Regions from separate parts of the Homo sapiens genome. Here region 1 is linked to region 2. The links are contacts of gene promoters, found by promoter capture Hi-C in blood cells and fetal thymus (Javierre and others, 2016). All regions are on one chromosome and are shown on one strand. Each heading gives the region's core, a stretch centred on a gene start or on the middle of the fragment in contact. The rest is flanking DNA. Distances are from core to core; before and after follow the strand shown.

What was found. Contacts are between HindIII fragments. The CHiCAGO score rates a contact against its expected background, and 5 or more counts as called.
Region 1: a fragment that was not itself captured here is called in contact with the fragment with the promoter of ARHGAP31 in region 2 in 12 of 17 cell types (megakaryocytes, naive B cells, M0 macrophages and 9 more); the score reaches 11.5 in megakaryocytes.

The regions. Positions count from the first base shown.
Region 1 is chr3:119,681,731-119,688,228 of GRCh38, reverse strand. No RefSeq gene overlaps it. Among named protein-coding and RNA genes, the nearest start is that of COX17, 7.6 kb to the right of the region's middle. The HindIII fragment of the contact is 1,303 bases long and covers 2,915-4,217 here.
Region 2 is chr3:119,290,486-119,297,140 of GRCh38, reverse strand. It overlaps ARHGAP31 (Rho GTPase activating protein 31), which reads right to left and starts at 2,758. Exons shown (of 12, transcript NM_020754.4): 1 at 2,137-2,758. The coding sequence starts at 2,236. It overlaps B4GALT4-AS1 (B4GALT4 antisense RNA 1), which reads right to left. Exons shown (of 4, transcript NR_046574.1): 4 at 6,475-6,500. RefSeq lists a silencer at 2,326-2,445 and an enhancer at 3,286-3,335. The HindIII fragment of the contact is 3,332 bases long and covers 1,172-4,503 here.

The DNA.
Region 1 (6,498 bases), core at 2,317-4,816, 390 kb before region 2:
TACATGCTTGAATTTTATTCTAGTCAATGGCTTTACGGAATGCTTTGGGGATGGCCCTATATAAACTTTTTGCAAGTTACCGTTCCTGCTCCCAATATTATAAGCTAGTTTATAGGGAGATGAGGAGGGGTCTTTCTAAATTCTGTTAGGGGTGTGATATGGTTTGGCTCTGTGTCCCCACCCAAATCTCATCTTGAATTGTAGTCCCATAATTCCCATGTGTTGTGGGAGGGAGCTGGTGGGAGATAATTAAATCGTGGGGGAAGTTTCCCCCGTACTGTTCTTGTGGTAGTGAATAAGTCTCATAAGATCTGATGGTTTTATCAGGGGTTTCTGCTTTTGCATCTTCCTCATTCTCTCTTTTCCTGCAGCCATCCATGTAAGATGGGACTTGCTCCTCCTTGCCCTCCACCATGATTGTGAGGCTTCCCCAGCCATGTGGAACTGTAAGCCCAATTAAACCTCTTTCTTTTGTAAATTGTCCCTTCTTGGGTATGTCTTTATCAGAAGCATGAAAATGGACTAATATAGTAAATTGGTACCAGGGTGAGATACTGCTGAGAAGATACCTGAAAATGTGGAAGCAACTTTGGAACTGGGTAACAGGCAGAGATTGGAACAGTTTGGAGGGCTCAGAAGACAGGAAAATGTGGAAAAGTTGGGAACTTCCTGGATACTTGTTGAATGGCTTTTCCCAAAATGCTGATAGCAATATGGACAATAAGATCCAGATTCAGGTGGTCTCAGATGGAGGTGAGGAACTTGTTGGGAACTGGAGTAAAGGTGATTCTTGTTATATTTTAGCAAAGACACTGGTGGCATTTTGCCCCTGCCTTAGAGATTTGTGGAACTTTGAACTTGAGAGAGATGATTTAGGGTGTCTGGTGGAAGAAACTTCTAAGCAGCAAAGCATTCAAGATGTGACTTGGGTGCTGTTAAAGGCATTCAGTTTTAAAGGAGAAACAGAGCATAAAAGTTTGAAAAATTTGCAGCCTGACAATGCAATAGGAAAGAAAATACCATTTTCTGAAAAGAAATTCAAGCCAACGACAGAAATTTGCCTAAGTAACCAGGAGCCAAATGTTAATTCCCAAGACAATGGAGAAAATGTCTCCAGGGCATGTCAGAGGTCTTCATGGCAGCCACTCTCATCACAGGCTTGGAGGCCTAGGAGGATAAAGTGGTTTCATGGGCTGGGTCCAGGGTCCCCAAGCTGTGTGCAACCTAGGGACTTGGTGCCCTGCATCCCAGCCACTCCAGCCATGGCTGAAAGGGCCAACATAGAGCTCAGGCCATGGCTTCAGATGGCCAACCCCAAGTCTTGGCAGCTTCCATGTGGTGTTGAGCCTGAGGGTGCACAGAAGTCAAGAATTGAGGTTTGGGAACCTTTACCTAGATTTCAGAATATGTATGGAAATGCCTGGAAGCCCAGGCAGAAGTTTGCTGCAGGGGCAGGGGTCTCATGGAGAACCTCTGCTAGGGCAATGCAGAAGGGAAAGGTGGGGTTGGAGCCCCTACACCTACTGGGGCACTGCTTAGGGCATTGCTTAGTGGAGCTGTGAGAGGAGGGCCACTGTCCTCCAGATCCTAGAATTGTAGATCTACCGACAACTTGCACCATGCACCTGGAAAAGCCGCAGACACTCAACACCAGCCCATGAAAGTAGCCGGGAGGGAGGTTGTAATCTGCAAAGCCACAGGGGTGGAGCTGCCCAAGACCATGGGAACCTACCTCTTGCATCAGCATGACCTGGATATGAGACATGGAGTCAAAGGAGATCATTCTGGAGCTTTAAGATTTGACTGCCCCACTGGATTTCAAACTTGCATGGGCCCTGTAGTCCTTTTGTTTTGGCCAATTTCTCCTATTTGGAATAGGTGTATTTACCCAATGTCTGTATTCCCATTGTTTCTAGGAAATAACTAACTTGCTTTTGATTTTACAGGCTCATAGGCAGAAGGGACTTGCATTGTCTCAGATGAGACTTTGGACCATGGCCTTTTGAGTTAAAGATGAAATGAGTTAAGACTTTGGGGGACTCCTGGGAAGGCATGATTGGTTTTGAAATGTGAGGATATGAGATTTGACAAGGGCCAGGGGCAAAATGATATAATTTGGCTCTGTGTCCCCACCCAAATCTCATCTTGAATTATACTTCCATAATTCCCACATGTTGTGGAGGGACCCAGTGGGAGACAATTGAATCACGGGGATGGTTTCCCCCATACTGTTCTTGTGGTAGAGAATAAGTCTCACAAGATCTGATGGTTTTATCAGGGGTTTCCACTTTTGCATCTTCCTCATTCTCTTTGCCTGCTGCCATCCATGTAAGATGGGTCTTGCTCCTCCTTGCCTTCCACCATGATTGTGAGGCTTCCCCAGCCATGTGGAACTGTAAGGCCAAAGGCCAATTAAACCTCTTTCTTTTGTAAATTGCCCCTTCTTGGGTATGTCTTTATCAGCAGCATGAAAACAGACTAATACAGGGTGTGTGCAATTGACCTTTTTCTTCTTTCTTTCCTTTTTTTTTTTTTTTTTTTAAGGCAGGGTCTCACTTTATCACCCAGGCTGGAGTGCAATGGAGTGACCTCGGCTCACTGCAACCTCCGCCTCCTGGGTTCAAATGACTCTCCCTCAGCTTCCTGAGTAGCTGAGATTATAGATGTGTGCCACCAGGCCTGGCTAATTTTTGTATTTTTAGTAGAGACGGAGTTTCGCCCTGTTGGCCAGGCTGGTCTCGATCTCCTGACCTCAGGTAATCTGCCCACCTCAGCCTCCCAAATTGTGGGGATTACAGGCGTGAGCCACCATACCCAGCCACAACTGACCTTTTTCATCCAGTGATTAGCCTGGCTTTCTCCCACAAGCATGTGGACAAGTTGATTAAGATCAGAGAAGCTGGGCTAGTAAGCTTCAATTGTAATGTTAAATTCATCAGCAAAGCAAAGAGGGTCCTGGGTAACTTTAGGAAATTCCTTGGCTTTAACATGGATTTCAGCCTTATTCCAAGGGCATAGACAATCTAAGGAACCTCAGGATTGTTAGTGGGTCTAACCCTACAGGGACAAGTTTTTATAGGTTGAGGATGGGGATCAGAAGCTGGGAGGGTAGTAGGGGAGGAAGTATCAGGATTGAGTGGGGTTTTCAGAAAGGGAAGGGTAGAGAGGAGAGAGAGGTGGTGGTACCAGGGGAGCAGAAAAACTCTGAGTTTCTAAGGCCTTTTAAAATCTTCCTTTCGTTGTTTATCTGTCTTAGTTAACTTAGTGATGGTATTTTGGAGTTAGGTGATTTTTGAGGCTTGAATACATTTAGATGCTTCAAGATACCACTTAAAGTTTATGCTCCTTTCAGGCAATTTAATTTTGTAGCCATGGCCTTCTAATTTAGTTCTAAGAAAACAAGTTAGGGAGTTCAAGAGATGGCCATTGTAATTCCAAATTTTCTTTAGTGTAATTGGTCCATTGCGATAAAAAAAGAATAGGAAGATGGACCATAATAATTAAGCATATAACAAGCTAGAGTCCCCAATGTTGGGGGGCTATTTTGGTATATCTTTGAATTTGGGGAGTTCATTTGTAAATAAACATATCCAAGTGAGTCAGTGCAAAGCCAAACACACAAAAGCCAAAATAAAAATCAAGCACACAAAATGAACCAAAGAGTAAAGTACATACTCACCGGGAAGAATGACAAAGCCTTCTTCAAATCCCTTACAAATAGAGGCCTAATAAATAGGAGAGGAAAGGCCCTTCATAAAGAAATCCCAAATAAAGCTGAAGAACTCAAATCCAAAAAAAAAAAAAAAAAAAAAAGGGGTGTTTAACCCAAGAAAGACTCACTGGGGTGAAAAAAGATCACCAGCGGAAGTAGGGGGCTCAAGGGGTCTGACAGTGAGTACTGCACACCATAGTTCCAGGGGCCATTATCTTTCCAAGTGAATCTGCTTTGCATCTCACTTCTGACACCATGTAATGTCAATAACAGATAGAGACTAATCTCCAAGCAAAAAGAGTTTATTTTGAAATAAACAAAGAAATAGGATTGCAATCTGGGACAAACATACAAACTGAAGTGGTCTCCAATATATTCAAAAAAAAAAAAGGAAATGGTTGAGGTTTCATTGGGAAAAGAGAAAGGTTATTGGTGCTTGTGGCATTTTGCAGGAGCTGGCAAGCTCTGATTGCTGGGTGGCAAAAGTTACTAGGTAAAACAAGCTTTGAAGTCATGGCAGCCATTTGTTGTCAAACTAGTCTTAAAATTGTAGCAGCTGTTTCATTGGATTGGGCTTGTGGGACAGTTTCTGGAGCAGGCTTTTGAGACCTGAGTGTTTTTTCACCCCTATGGTCCTCTAACTCTAAATTTTAGTTGGGTATAACAGGAATGACTCCATTTGTATAATCAATTTTTCACTTTAGATAATCGACCTGTGGTAGACAGATTCTTAAGGTGGCCCCTGGATCCTGACCTCCTGGTGTTCATGTTCTCATGTGATCCCCTCTTTTCAAGTATTTTAGCCAATAGAATATGCCAAATATGATATGATAGATGTAATTACATGGTTCTCTTACATAAGACTGTAATGCCCATATTTCTGGGTGGCTCTCTATCCCTTGCTGGCTTTGAGGAAGTAAGTGACCATGTTGGGAACCCTATTTGGCAAGGAACTACAGGAGGCCTCTAGGAGCTGAGGGTAGCCTCCAACTGATAGCCAGCAAGAAACCAAAGCCTTTAGTCCTACAATAGCAAGAAACTGAATTCTGTCAACAACATAAGATTGGAAGCATATTCTTCCCCAGTAGAACCACAGATGAGACCACAGTCTCAGCTGAAAGCTTGATTCAAGTCTTGTAAGACCCTAATCAAAGAAGTCACTTAAGTAATGCCCTTGACTACAGAAACTGTGAGATAATAAATATGTATTACCACCAGGTATGTGGTAATATTGTTATACAGCTGTATTAGTCTCCTTGGGTTGCAATAACAAAATACCATAGACTGGGTGGCTTAAGCAACAGATATTTATTTTTCACAGTTCTGGAAGCTGGGAAGTCCTAGATCAAGGTGCCGGTCAATTCAGTACCTGGCAAGGATCCTGGCTTTACTTCTGACTTGCAGAGTGCTGCCTTCTTGTTGTATCCACACATGGGTACAACAAAAGGACTCTGGTCTCTTCCTCTTGTTATAAGGGTACTAATACCATCATGGGGGCTCCATCTTCATGACATCATCTAAACCTACTTGTCTCCCAAAGGCTCCATCTTCAAATATCATCACACTGGGGATTACGGTTTCAGTATATAAATTATGGCAGGACACAAACATTCAGTCCATAGTAATAGCAATAAATCACTAATACACAACCTTCGTGAAATCAGGTCATGTCATTTAGGTTACTTGTATTAAAATAACTTTGATATTGGAAAGGGATGTTAGTTCATAAAATTTAATTAAAACGAAGTACATAGTAATGTTGGGAGATAATTCTCCATGGGTGCACATGTTTCTGCGTGTCTTTTTTTTTTTCTTGAGATGGAGTCTCGCTCTGTCGCCAGGCTGGAGTGCAGTGGTGTGATCTCGGCTCACTGCAATCTCCGCGTCCCAGGTTCAAGTGATTCTCCTGCCTCAGCCTCCCAAGTAGCTGGGACTACAGGCATGTGCCACCATGCCCAGCTAATTTTGGTATTTTTAGTAGAGATGGGGTTTCACCATGTTGGCCAGGATAGTCTCGATCTCTTGACCTCGTGATCTGCTCACCTTGGCCTCCCAAAGTGCTGGGATTACAGGTGTGAGCCACCGTGCCCGGCCTTCTGCATGTCTTTCAAGGGGTGGCACTGTTTGCCTTTGTTCCTTTGTGTAGGAAACAACCTTGGAAGACAAAGGTAGTGTCTACTTTGGGAGCAAAAGTCAGACATTTTTACTGCCCACAACTAAAGATTTGAGTTTCCTAAGCTCACTGTTCCTTTCCTGTAATTCAACCCAGTGCATATGTGGATATCATCTGGCTTTCTTCACATCACCCTGTGGGACTTGGAACTCAGGGAACTGGCATAAAAATGCTGATATTCTGCTGCTGCTATTGCTATAAGTAATAAATTGTCCTTCATCTGTGACCTAGCTGCTTGGAGGCTTCTACCAATAATATGGTTTGGCTGTGTCCCCACTGAAAATCTCATCTTGAATTGTAATCCCTATGTGTCAAGGGTGGAACCAGGTGGAGGTAACTGGATCATGGGGGCAGTTTCTCCCATGCTGTTCTTGTGATAGTGAGTGAGTCTCACATGATCTGATGGTTTTATAAGTGGCATTTCCCCTGTTGGCACTCACTCCGTCCTACCATCTTGTAAAGAAGGTCCCTGCTTCTCATTTGCCTTCCACCATGATTGTAAGTCTCCTGGAGCCTCCCTAGCAATGCAGAACTGTGAGTCAATTAAACCTCTTTCCTTTATATTACCCAGTCTTGGGTATTTCTTTATAGCAGCATGAGAACAGACTAATAC
Region 2 (6,655 bases), core at 1,509-4,008:
TTCCATAAGCAGTATATTATGCATGTCTAATTTCCGTGTAGCACAATAACAGTGTGTGGATCATTAAGTGGGTCAGTTGCGTTTCCTTTCAAAGCTGAACTCTCATCAGGTATGTTCAGTCTTCAAAGTTTGCTGATCCTGTAGCAGGGCTGTCTGCTTTCAATTTAGGGGGAAAATATCATTAGAAGAGAATGTTGGCTTAGACACAGAAGCCAGGGAGGGCAGAGGAACCTAACAGGCCAGGGAGGGCCCTCCGATCCTTCATGATTAGCTGTACAACCTCAGGCAGGCCAATTTACCCCTCTGGGCTTCTTTTCCCCCTCCCCAGGGTGGGGAACCCGGGGTACTGGTTTGCCATTCTTTTAAGCAGTAGTCTCTGTTTTTTTTTGTCTAAATGAAACATATGCAGAAGCCCAAAATATAAAGCAGGTGAAAGAACAGCTGCCTAAAGCTGCCTTTGACATATCTTCATAGAACCCTGGGGTTCTGGCTCATCCTATAATCTATTAGTTTGTAAGAACGAACAGGGCTGGCAAGCACCCCTATGCAACTCTCACAGATTTGAGGGAGGGGCCAGAATAACACCCGCATGGTGAAAGGTGGCATCCCAGGAGCATTCCTAGTGTACCTGGAGGTTAACTTGAAGGCCCCTGCAAAAATAGGTGAAGAGGAACCTTTCATTGTAAACTTCTGACGATAGTGGTTAAGAGGCATACTTGGAGTTTTCTCACACTCAAAAAAACTCAAACCAAGTGATTTTTATCTCAAATCTACCTCTCCAGATGGTTGGTGAGGATTCAATGAAGTGTTAAGTTATGCATCAATTTCAAAAGAGTCAGTTTTGAAACCTGTGGTTCTCCAAGCTCTAAAATCCTAAGCTATTTGTCCTAATGACACAGCAGACTGAACTCTAGAATACCACAGGAATATCACACCACTGCAAATTACTAGGTGGTGCTGAGTCTCCCAAAACACAGAAGTGAAACAAAAGCATTGCACTGTTTTTGAAATGCATATTCGATATGGACTAATCAAATAGGTTTTGAGATTATTTTCCTGGAGGCAGAATTATTCCGCACGGTTACACAGCCCTTAGTTTTCCCCTTTGTTGTATCTATCTATGTATAAACACATGGCCTATATAGTAGGCTATTTTCCTCTCGCTGAAGCTTCTGAAGACAAGGCCTTTTTGTCAAGGGTAAGTGCAAAACCAGTCAACCTTACAAAAGGAGTCATTTAATGCTCAATTTTCCAACTTTCCTATGATTAAACACTTCTAAGCTCAAACGCTGTTATTGTAATCTAGATGGTGTTTTCTTTCCCCCTTCCCCAACAAATGTTTAAATTGTCTCCGCTGGATTCCCCCATCCCCAACTCCCCCCTACCCCCATCTGACCTTGAAAACAGAGAAGTTTTCCTTTTCTCTACTTACCCTAAACTATTTAAAAATGGAGGCCCTCTGACCTTTTTACAACACTCTTCTTGTCTGACACACCAAATGTTAATCTGAAAGCCAAGAGGAGGGAAAAGGTCTTGCAGGGCGGGGAGGGGGTTGTGGAAAGGGGGTGGAGGTACTATATATTTGGCATCAGCTCAGAAATTCAGAAATGTTTGTGCAACCACTCCCCCAGCCAGGATCCTCCCCCACCCCCCACCCGCAACTGCCTTCTAACACATTAATAAAAAAAGATGTGAGCAGACGAAATTGGAGAGCCCAGGAGGGACAGCTAAGGCGGTCATGATTTTGTACCCAGGCAAGACCACTGATCACCATCCCACATGTCCACCCCTCCTCCCTCCCTTCCAACGTGCCAAGTTTAGGATTGGGACCTCTGCAGCTTCCACCCCCATCCCCTGAGGTGGCCCGGTAAACTTGCGGCAGTACCACCCATTAACAGCTTGTGTGAGGCAAACGGAAGGACTGACACAGCAGCCTCTGCGCGTCGGGACAGCAGCGCTGTGCACCTTAAGAATCGTTTATGTTCTTTAAAAAAAAAAAAGAAAAAAAAGTGCAATGAGCGCACAGGCCTGGAATACATTAACTTGTGAACCGACTCTATCACAACTCGAGAGAGTCCGTCTCTCCCTCAAACAAAAAGAAGGTGGGGGCGGGGGAGAAAGGCCAAGGCACATTACCATCCTGTCCCGAGCTTTCCAGATACTCCGTCAGGTCACAGCCAAACGCGCTGGCGGCTCCCTTTCGTTTCAGCTTCTGCTTAGCACCCTTGTTCTTCATGAGTTAGTCCCAAAGAGGCTGCCCCTCCGTCTCTGCCGCCCCTCTGCTTGGCACCGCTGTAAGATGGGCTCCCGGGCTAGATCACCGGCTGCCCCGCGGCTCTGGGGGGCCGCATCGGAAGATGGAAGAACTTGGGCTGGGGGCCCTGCGCATGGACCCCGCGGGCCGCGGGCCGGCAGAGCCTGAGATCCACCCCGCGCCGCTCCGGGGCCGCCGTGCCGAGGCCGTGCAGACTGGCAGCCGCGGGCCGGCTCGCCTGGGAGTGTCACTTCCTCACTTGGAGTCCTAGGGACTTTCACAGGCTCCTGCGGTGTCTTCGGGTGTTTCTCCTCAGCTTAAGAGGGAGGGCAAGCTCTCCCCACCCCTTACTAAGTGCCCCGGAGACGACGCGGACGCGGGGCGAGGAGACTGCCCAGGGGGCTGCGGTGGGTCCTGCGCCCTGGGCCCGCTGTCTCGCCTTCAGACGACTTTGGTAGAGCGAAAAACAAGCATCCTGTCGCTGCTGCCCGCCCTCACGCCTTCCTTTTTTTCCTGTCTTACAAATCCTAGGATCATCCAGCTCAGGAAATGCTGGAAGGAAGTTAGCTAGGGAGGGGGGCGGTGGGTGGAAATTTTTGGCAGCTCGGTGCTTGTGAGTGTGTGGAGCTAGAGGAAGTAGGTGGGTGGGTTGAGGAGCACGGGGTTGGGGTAGAGAACGCGTTCTCCCGAGAGCAGTTCTGCGACTCCAGAGATAACTGGGCAGCCCCGGAGGAAATCGCGCTCTTCTCGCAGGACCCGCAGCCGCAGCCGCCGCTTCCTGCCCCGCCGAGCCGGCTCTTTGAAGTGGCGGGAGGAGGTGCGCTGGCATTCTGCGGGGACCGTGCTGGTTGGGACTTTCAGAACCCTCTGCCCTGGTTTTATCCTCATTGTCATCGTATCTTTGACACTTTCTATTTCGGTGCCCGCCTGTCTGCTACGCAAATACTTAAAGAGTAATGACAGAGACAAACAGGGGACTCCAGCGGAGAAACCTGACAGGCAGTGGCTTCACGCCGGCCACTCCCATCCCAACCTCCTCTGCAGCGTTCGTGCACCCCCACCTCAGCTCACTCCCCTCCCACTCTGGGGTAAAGATACCCCTGGGCAAAGAGAGGCTGCAGCTTTGTAACCACTGCCCAGGAAATCAGATTTCTGGTTACATATTCAAGACACACACACACACTACTGCAAAGTTTTCTAAATGGAAGTGATTTGGGGGGGACAAACCAGGATTTAAGATGCCTCTGACACATGAAATGTGAAGAAAGCAGTCTCCCAGGTTCTTTCATAATTTGTTTCAAGTTGTTTCAAGAGGGCATGTTTTTTTCTTCTCCAGTTAGATTTTAAATTCTTTAACTTCTGTGTACTCAGCACACAGAAAGCACTCAAATTCTTGTGATTTAACCATTTGAGGATTAGATGAAACTTCCTGTATAAATTCAAATCCATATACAGGCTTGAAGGATAGGGGCATATGTCATACAGCTCAGATTGCTGGCAAAGCTGCATCCGTAGCATTTTAGGTACTGAATCCCTTTACAGTCACTGTCTCTCTATGTAACCTTAACAGTCTATGAACTTTGACCCTTGACATTTTCTCTATGTCAGAGGTCACAACTTGATAGCCACCCTGCCAGATCTGGCCCATAGATGTACTTGGCTGGCAGACACCATGCTTTAACACGTTTTAAAATTAGTAGCTAGCATTAAAAAGTTAAGAGATTTCACATAAAATCTGAATTTCTGGCTTCTCTTGAAAAAATGGAAGATCTAGTTACACCACAAGTGCATTCCCATATGGCAAGGACGGCTGATGCTGAGTTGTGGCAGGCCCCTTGGAGGCACCCTCTTTAGAGAGACGACTCTTGCAGTTTTGCAGACCCCACGGCCTGTCTTCCCCCTTTTGCACCTGCCTGGCCTCTGCTGCCACTTGAGTTTGCAGCCCAACCTCTATGAATTGTCTTTCCTGTTTTTCATTTTCCATCTCTCAGTGACACTGAGAAGCATTTGCCCCAGTCATCTTGGTGAAATGTCTTCAAGTAACCACAGACTCATTTGTCTCCTTCCTCTCCCACCTGCAAGGTAGTCCCGCCCAGACGATGAGCTCTTCACCATGCCTCTCAGCTTGGTTTATTCCTTTCCAGGCCCACTCAGTGAGGACCATCCACTCCTCAATTATTAAAGTAACTCCTAGTGGGATTTGTTGAGTCCAATCTCCTCCACTTCCTCCATCCTATGTATTAAAAGCTTGAGGAGTCATCTTGAAGGATTGCTGTTGTTATATGCCTGCCTGCCTTGCTGAAAACCTTTCAATAGCTCCCCAGTCCTACTTTTAGGGCAGCAATTTCTAAGCATTTTGTAAACTGCTTGGAGAGTATCTGATAAGGTATTTGGTACAATGGCTTGTTCCTCCCTTTATTTATAGAGAAGCAGCTCCATATGGGACTATAATGATCACTATTAGCATTTGCTTAGCAGTTTACTTCAGCAAGGACTTTTGCATTCATTCTTTCATCTGACTTACGTGGATTTCATCATCTTGTCAGCAAAAGAGAGAGGCTGAAAGAGCCCCTTTTCTGAGTGCAAATAATGGAGAAATTGCCAAGCCCTGTTAATTACCTTTTTAAATATTTCAAAACTTCCTTTTAATGTTTCACTTTCAAGTAATTCCAGCTTATAAATAATTTACAGGCCGGGCGCAGTGGTTCACGCCTGTAATCCCAGCACTTTCGGAGGCCGAGGCGGGCAATCACGAGGTCAGGAGATCGAGACCATCATGGCTAACGCGGTGAAACCCCGTCTCTACTAAAAATACAAAAAAATTAGCCGGGCATGGTGGTGTCGGGCGCCTGCAGTCCCAGCTACTCGGGAGGCTGAGGCAGGAGAATGGTGTGAACCCGGGAGGCGGAGCTTGCAGTGAGCCGAGATGGTGCCACTGCACTCCAGCTTGGGTGACAGAGCGAGACTCCGTCTCAAAAAAAAAAAAATTTACAAAAAAATAGTCAAGGAATTCCCATATACCTTTCACCCAACTTCCCCAAATATTAATATCTTATACAATGAGAGTATAGTTATCAAAATTAGAAAGTTTATATTGATACAATAATATTAATCAATCAACAGACTTTATTCAAGTCTGAATTAATTTTTAAATTACATACAATTTTTATTAAATATGGTCTTTCTCATAATGAAGGCTATCAGTTAAGCATGCAAACGATAATTTACAAGTAATTCTCAAAATACTTCAAAAATACTTCATAGTATAACTTTAGCTATGTACAAAATCCCCATAATCACCATCAAACCCGGCAGTTGTAGTTTGTTGAAAAACAGGGCTGTCTAGGTGAAGCAGTGAGGCCAGTTAGTGACCTTAACATAGCCCTGAGATTCTTCTATGCTTTACTTAGAATTTCCCCGAATGCCTCTGGCATCATAGGATTTTCAACCTGGAATGGCCTGATGGACGTTTTGATCCCTGCTTCATGTTAAGTTGGGTTCAAGTTTGTAAGAGTTCAAGATGGAGGTAATACTGAGCACCTAGCAAAGTGTTTATTATTCCTGTGCTGATTAAACAAACCTTATCTGAAATGTACACGTGATATGCATTTCAAGGTTATCTTGATGATAACTCAGTTATTCACACCAAATGGTGGGATGAGTTCACAATATTTCAACCGAGATAATGAAGTCACATGGTGACAACCTGATTTGGGGAGTTGGAAAGCTGTCCCCCTCCCCATTTGTTTTCTGCCCCCTCTTAATGTTGAGTATGTCCTGCGATAGATGCCAAACTTGAATCTAGTGCTTGTTTTAGATTTTTTTTTTTTCCAATTTTTCTTTCTCTTTTCTTCCTCTACATATCTCTTTCTCTTCCCATTTTTTTTTCTTTCTCCTTGCTTATTCTAAGCAGAGTCTTTTCTGGGGCTATAGAAGAAAATCTGATTTGGTTCCAAAATCTGATTTCTGTTTGGCTGAGCATTACCTAAGAAACAAGCTGGTATGGAGATAATGTAGGAATGTTAACAGAAAGACTAATTGAGAAGCCATTTGGTGATCATATAAATTATGCCTTTAGCAGACTGTCATGGTGCAATTTACTGGAAAAGCTCTTTGCTCACACAGAGATACCTCAGAATTCTGTTGCTGCCTATGATCCCTCTTACCTGCACTTATTGAGGACTGATGCCTGTCAACATGAGCTATCTGTTTCCTTCATCACCAAGGATGGTAACAACCTTCTCTCCTGTAAATAAAGAGATGTAGAAAAGCAAGATGACTGACTTAGAGATATGCCTGGCATTCATCCCCCTGAAAATAAAGGACCAAGGCAACAAATAAACAGCTAAGATTTTACTGAAGTGTCAAAAGCAGAGTGCTGGAGTGCAGTAGGGGAGTGGC